Regions from separate parts of the Homo sapiens genome. Here region 2 is linked to region 1. Evidence: promoter capture Hi-C in human tissues and cell types (Jung and others, 2019). All regions are on one chromosome and are shown on one strand. The core of a region is centred on a gene start or on the middle of the fragment in contact, and the rest is flanking DNA. Distances in the headings are between cores, read along the strand shown.

Region 1 (2,972 bases), core at 213-2,712:
AGGCATGCAAACTTCAGCATTAAGTATCCCTAACTAAAATCCATTCCATTTTATCACCAGATTGCTTGATCTATTCAGTGCTGGATTCGATTAGCATGCTTAGAGAATCTGAAAAATGAGATACATACCAAAATTTAAGTCCCCAGGGAGAGCTAAGTGCAATAACCAGAAGGTGACTTGTGTCTGTCAGAGCCCTCTCTCACGGTTGATCTCAGGGCAGTTCTGTAGGAGTAATCCAGCACCATAAGAAATAGACTTGTAGTTCAGCTCAGTGTTTCTTCAATTAAAGTGCATTGTGTCTGGATGGGAAAAGTGTCGACTCCCAGATTCTTCATCACTAGATCAGAGCATTCTCGATGTCCTTCCTATCAGATAAAATGGCCTTTAAAGTTTGCTAGGAAGATGCAGTGGCGGAAGACAGGTGCTTGCTTCCTTAAATCGACATTCGGAGAAAAGAGGGCATAGCTAATGGGTGGGGATGAACACACAGCCCCTCTCCTTCCAGGTCCAGCAGGGAAGAAATTGAATGATTTTACCCACTTTGCTACACAGATGATTACAGGACCAGAAGCAATCACCAAGCTGGCTAATGTACCTCATTTGATTATATTCTGCGAAGACAAAAATAAATGAAAACAAAAAATCAGAAACATCCTTTCTAAATGTCTCCTTTCAGCCAAAAAGATGCTCTTTCTCATTGCCACTTACATACAGAAGGTTTGGAGCAGCCCAGCTTGTGGCATAGTCCCTCCCCCGTGACAACCAGCTCTCTCTCTCTCATTCTCTCTCCCTCCACTCCCTCCCTCCCTCCCTGCCCCTGACTCCCTCCCTTCCTGCTTCTCTTTCTCCTCTCCAGCTGCCTTAGTCTGTTGAAGCTGCTGCTGATTAATCAGGGATTCTGAAACAAAGAACCTACCTTCTGAAATAAGCAGTAATCTTTCTTCTCTGTTTCTGCAATCCGTCTGCATTGAACGGCAAGGCTGCCAGCGTTCTAGCACCTTGGATAGTTCCTGCTCACTAGGCCCATTGGAAAAGGGAGAAGCAACTGAAGAAATTGCAAGAAACCGGAAAGCGGCATCGTTCTACTTTGGATTTCGGCTCCCTGGGGGCTCCCATCCTCATTAAAGGCCTCACATCTAGGCAACAGAACCTCTCTCTTTTATCTAACTGAGCTGAAGTCTGATTAGTAAATAATAAAAGGAAAAGAGGGTAAAGAAACACCCTTCATTTATATTCACTATAGCACTAATTCAGTCTTTATGGAGAGGAAAAATATAAATCCATTGAAAACAAATGTTCTTACTACAGAGAATGGTTAAGTTATAAGCATTTCACCCCTGGCGTGGCTAATGAAAATGAACAACAACTTAAATGGAACATCTAGATCTCAGTTTGATACCCTTATTTGATATCAATTTTGCCTCCACCCTCCCTGCACAGCCGAGCCATGCACACAATTACTGCTGACGTACTTCAGGCTGCTGCTTGGGGAGAGAGGGGAGGAGCCTTTTAACCTCATCAAAACAGCTTCATGCCACCTGCTCCCATGGCATGAGAACAAAACTAGTCCACTTAGAAAGAATATGCACAGCACACACGTGTGTGGAACAAAGGTCTTACTCGGACTGCACATTTTTTTAACTAAAATAAGATGCAAAATAATTATGATATGTATGTCATTAATTCCTATAGACTCATTGTTAAAATTAAAGTCATTCTATTTCTGATATTTCCCAAAGACTCTCCTCATTCTGTTCTTAATACTCTACTGAATATATACATATATATCACATTATATACCACAACTTATATATGTGTGTTTGTGTGTATTTGTATTTATTAAGCTCAAAGTTTTTCTCATACTGGCTCCTCCTCAGTAAAAACTAAAATGTACATGTTTTAATCTATTAATTTTGCACTATGATAAAAGGAATAATATATAATATGTTTCTGATGGATATGAGCTTAAAAAGCAATTTTGATGGGAGGGGATGTGCTTATTACTTGATAGTGACCTATAGATTTTTCCCCTCACATTCTTTTTCAGTAACTCACTGTAAATGACCTTCACTTGCAGGTTGGTTTTCCCAAGAGTGTTTTTTAACGTCTATATTCATAACCAAAGTCTTAGAAAATAGTTTTCTGAATTTAGTTTTTAATGCATTGACAGACCACAAAAATAAACAAGTTCACCTGTCTAATTCTTAAATGTCACCTGAGACTGTGCTGTAATTTTCTTAAATTATATTTCTTTAACTTGTAAGTATCTGGGGAAAAATAAAATCAACACATTACATTACTATAAAGCTTTTCTATTTTACATGTCCTGAAGTGCATTCCTGAAGCTCATCACTTATTTCTTGGTCTTTGTGTATCTAGCTTTTGGTTAGAACAGGACATCTGTTTAATTTTAAGAAGGATTCTGCAAGATTAGATAGATGAAAAGGAGGAGAAATACAAACGGGGAAGAGAAGAGGCCAGACCTCTCTCATATTCTCTTCCCCCTATCCCAATGCTCTCCCTTTCCCTCTCTCTCTCTCTCTCTCTGCCTTATGAAGGTTCTAAATACTTAGCACATTGCTGAAAAGTGCCTCAAGCACCACTTATAAACTAGTAACAGCCACCACACTGTGATCAAGAGGTTTACTAATGTGCCATTATTTTGGTAGTGAAGTGTTCTCATAGATGTTGTCTTTCAGCACATGACCAAAGGTGGAAAAAGTTCTTTACAAAAAAAAAATTATTGACAGACATTTTAGAAAACGGAAACACTTTATCATGACTGATAATTTTGCCAGTCTGGGGGTCTATATTTTGAACTATGGAGAGCTTGAATAAGCTCTAGTGTAAAGCCCATTTCTATATGTAAGAAAAATACTACCAAGATAAGTAAACAGACTTACTTGTTTCTGACTTACTTAATTGCCTCATTAGGATTAAGACCCAAGGTCCCTGGGCTGACTGCAGGTCTC
Region 2 (3,036 bases), core at 45-2,544, 280 kb after region 1:
CCCATTAGAAAACCTTCCCTCTTAATTAGGTAATCAGAACCTGCAAACAAAAGTTTAGTGGTTCACCCAGGCATAGTGGTTCACTACGCATTTTGGGAGGCCGAGGCAGTTGCAGATCACATGAGGCCAGGAGCTTCAGACTAGGCTGGCCAATATGGTGAAACCCCATCTCTACTAAAAAATACAAAAATTAGCTCAGCATGGTGGCATGCACCCGTAATCCTGGCTAATCAGGAGGCTGAGACATGAGAACCATTTGAACTCAGGAGGCAGAGGTTGCAGTAAGCTGAGATTGCGCCACTGCACTCCAGCCTGGGTGACAGGGCAAGACTCTGCCTCAGAAAAAAAAAAAAAAAAAGAAACCTGCAAAACACAAAAGTTTGGTGGCTCTAAAATAGCTTTGAGTATTTGAATTGAATTAAGCCTCTAAAATGAAGAAGGAATTTTTCACTGAAAACTATGTTCTCTTCCCTGTCTGAATAGGTACAGTAAATATACATATATACAGCTATATATATATGTATATATATTTTTATATACATATATTTATATATACATAAATATATATATTTTTATATACATATATTTATATATACAAATATATATATATTTTTATATACATATATTTATATATACATAAATATATATATATATATATGTCGCCCAGGCTGTAGTGCAGTGGTGTGATCTTGGCTCACTGCAAGCTCTGCCTCCCGGGTTCACACCATTCTCCTGCCTCAGCCTCCCAAGTAGCTGGTACTACAGGCGCCCGCTACCAAGCCCGGCTAATTTTTTGTATTTTTTAGTGGAGACGGGGTCTCACCATGTTAGCCAGGATGGTCTCAATCTCCTGACCTCGTGATCCACCCACCTCGGCCTCCCAAAGTGCTGGGATTACAGGCGTGAGCCACCATGCTCAGCCTAAGTAGAGTAACAATATTAAAAACAGCTAACATCATTGATGTGGGGAAATTTCTAAGCACTTCACATGTATAAGCTTATTTAATCTTCACAGAAACACTTTATCATAGGTACTATGATAGACTAAGACTTTACTCTGAACAGCTCCTCACCATACAGTCTGTCCTGTGAGCAGAACATGACCCCAAAGTGGGAGGATGAATGTTTCAATTTGTGAATAGCAGTGATTGGATTATGAGTCCATTTCTGGGTTTAACTTGATTCTGTAAAATATTGCTATTTTCTGTAGATCTGTTTGCAGGCAGTTTACTTATACCTATGTGCCATTGAGTCTTTCTCTAACAAGTGAAAACAAAATCACCCAGCATTAGAAAAGAGTCAAAGCCATTTGTGTTATGATTTCAGCTACTTAGACTTGCTATTTTAAAAAGTGATATGTATTCCCTGCATGCATCCTACACAGTATTCATGCTGTTCAAGATTACAAATTCAGAATGGAGATTTCCCACTTGAAATCACAGAAATGGATTTTACTTGTAATATTAGTGCCATGAAAAATAATTATGCTTCATCCAATGCTATAAATTTCTATCATGCTCCCTCTCCTTAATATGTAGTGAATTTCACTAGGACAAAATATGCTTTTATCACACAGTGCACTGTGACTACATGTCGATCCTGTCCGCAGTTGTCCACTTTCCTCAACCCTAACTCAAGATGAAGTCATATATTACTGACTGCCAAGGGTGCTCTCCAAATAAAGTGTGTGGCTTGGCACTCACAGCTAGTTGAAACTGATGCCAGTGCACTTCTTACAGAATATCAGGACTCACTAAACAATTGTTTTGGGGAAAAAAAATTTCACAGAGCCCTTCTTGCTCATATATGTAGTCTGCATTTGCCAAGGGTAAAAGCATTCTCTTCCAACTGATGATTTGGTGCACCACAAAAGGGAAATACCTGCTGGTATGCACAGGTGACTGTTGTCACCATTCCACTGCACACTGCCCAACAGGGCCATTTTCTCTCTAAGCATATTTGATATTTGTTGTTAACTTTGAAGGCAGTTGTATCAGCTTCCAGGCAATCATGTGACTTGTGCTTGGTTTTGCAAGGAGAAATGAAACCTTAAATGGTGTCACTTGACTTTTTGGCTTCTCTTTCTTAACAAAAATAAGTTAATTAGGTAATTATCATTTTTGGGCTTGATCTGGACAATTTTAATAGATTTGCCAGAGAGGTCACTATGCAGTTTTATGGAACTCATGCCACTGCTTGACCAAGTTCATACCAGAGAGAACAATGGTGATTAGAAGAAATGGAAGGAGTGTGCAAATCCTCCACATTTCAGTAGTTTGCTTTTTCTTTCTCAACTGCTTGTGCAAGGTCTTCACACTTGCATGTTCACTCGTCACAGCAGGCACACATTCACTGGGGTGCTCGTCACTCTGTATATCAGGGGTCCCTAAATCCCTGGCCATGGACTGGCATGGTACAGAAGGGGGTAAGCTGCAGGCCAGTGAACATTACTGCCTGAGCTCTGCCTCCTGTCAGATCAGCAGTGGCATTAGATTCTTGTAGGAGCAAGCAATAAAAGGTGGGTTTCAGAACTAAATGTTGAAAGAGTAGAAGCATTTTTGTTTACGTACTCCTGGAGAATATTTGGAATTAATTAAAGACTGGCCTCTGCAATTAGAAATAAAATAATCCTATACATGTTGGAAGGGAGGAGGCAAATTTCATTATCTGTAGCTGATATCATTGACTAACTAGAGCATTCAGATTAATACTCCAAGGATAAACTTGGCCCGAGCCATGCCTGACCTGAACAAAAGAATCCTCTTCTTTGCTCTTTGAGCGCTCTCTTTTCATCAACTTTTAGGCACTCATAGGAAGGCACTTTGAGAAACATGAAGAAATGGAATGGGTGAACGTTGTTATAGACCTACACAACCAGCTCTGAAGACAACAACTTTTGGGAAAGCTTCAGAGAGGCAAAGACGTTTAAGCAGATATTAATATGTTGGAGATTCTTGTTCTTGTTAGAGCAATGACCAAAGGGATAGCAAAAAAGATCGAATGGGAAAACGAACTAGGGATCTTTCTTGAATGTGA

The links. Contacts are between HindIII fragments. The study calls those that stand out against the background at their distance.
Region 2: a fragment that was not itself captured here is called in contact with the fragment with the promoter of NYAP2 in region 1 in 1 of the 25 tissues and cell types used here (H1 embryonic stem cells).

The regions. Positions count from the first base shown.
Region 1 is chr2:225,398,200-225,401,171 of GRCh38, reverse strand. NYAP2 (neuronal tyrosine-phosphorylated phosphoinositide-3-kinase adaptor 2) reads right to left here and starts at 1,462. Exons shown (of 8, transcript NM_001371273.1): 1 at 917-1,462; 2 at 129-611. The HindIII fragment of the contact is 4,626 bases long and covers 1-2,972 here.
Region 2 is chr2:225,116,143-225,119,178 of GRCh38, reverse strand. No RefSeq gene overlaps it. Among named protein-coding and RNA genes, the nearest start is that of DOCK10, 75 kb to the right of the region's middle. The HindIII fragment of the contact is 3,722 bases long and covers 1-3,036 here.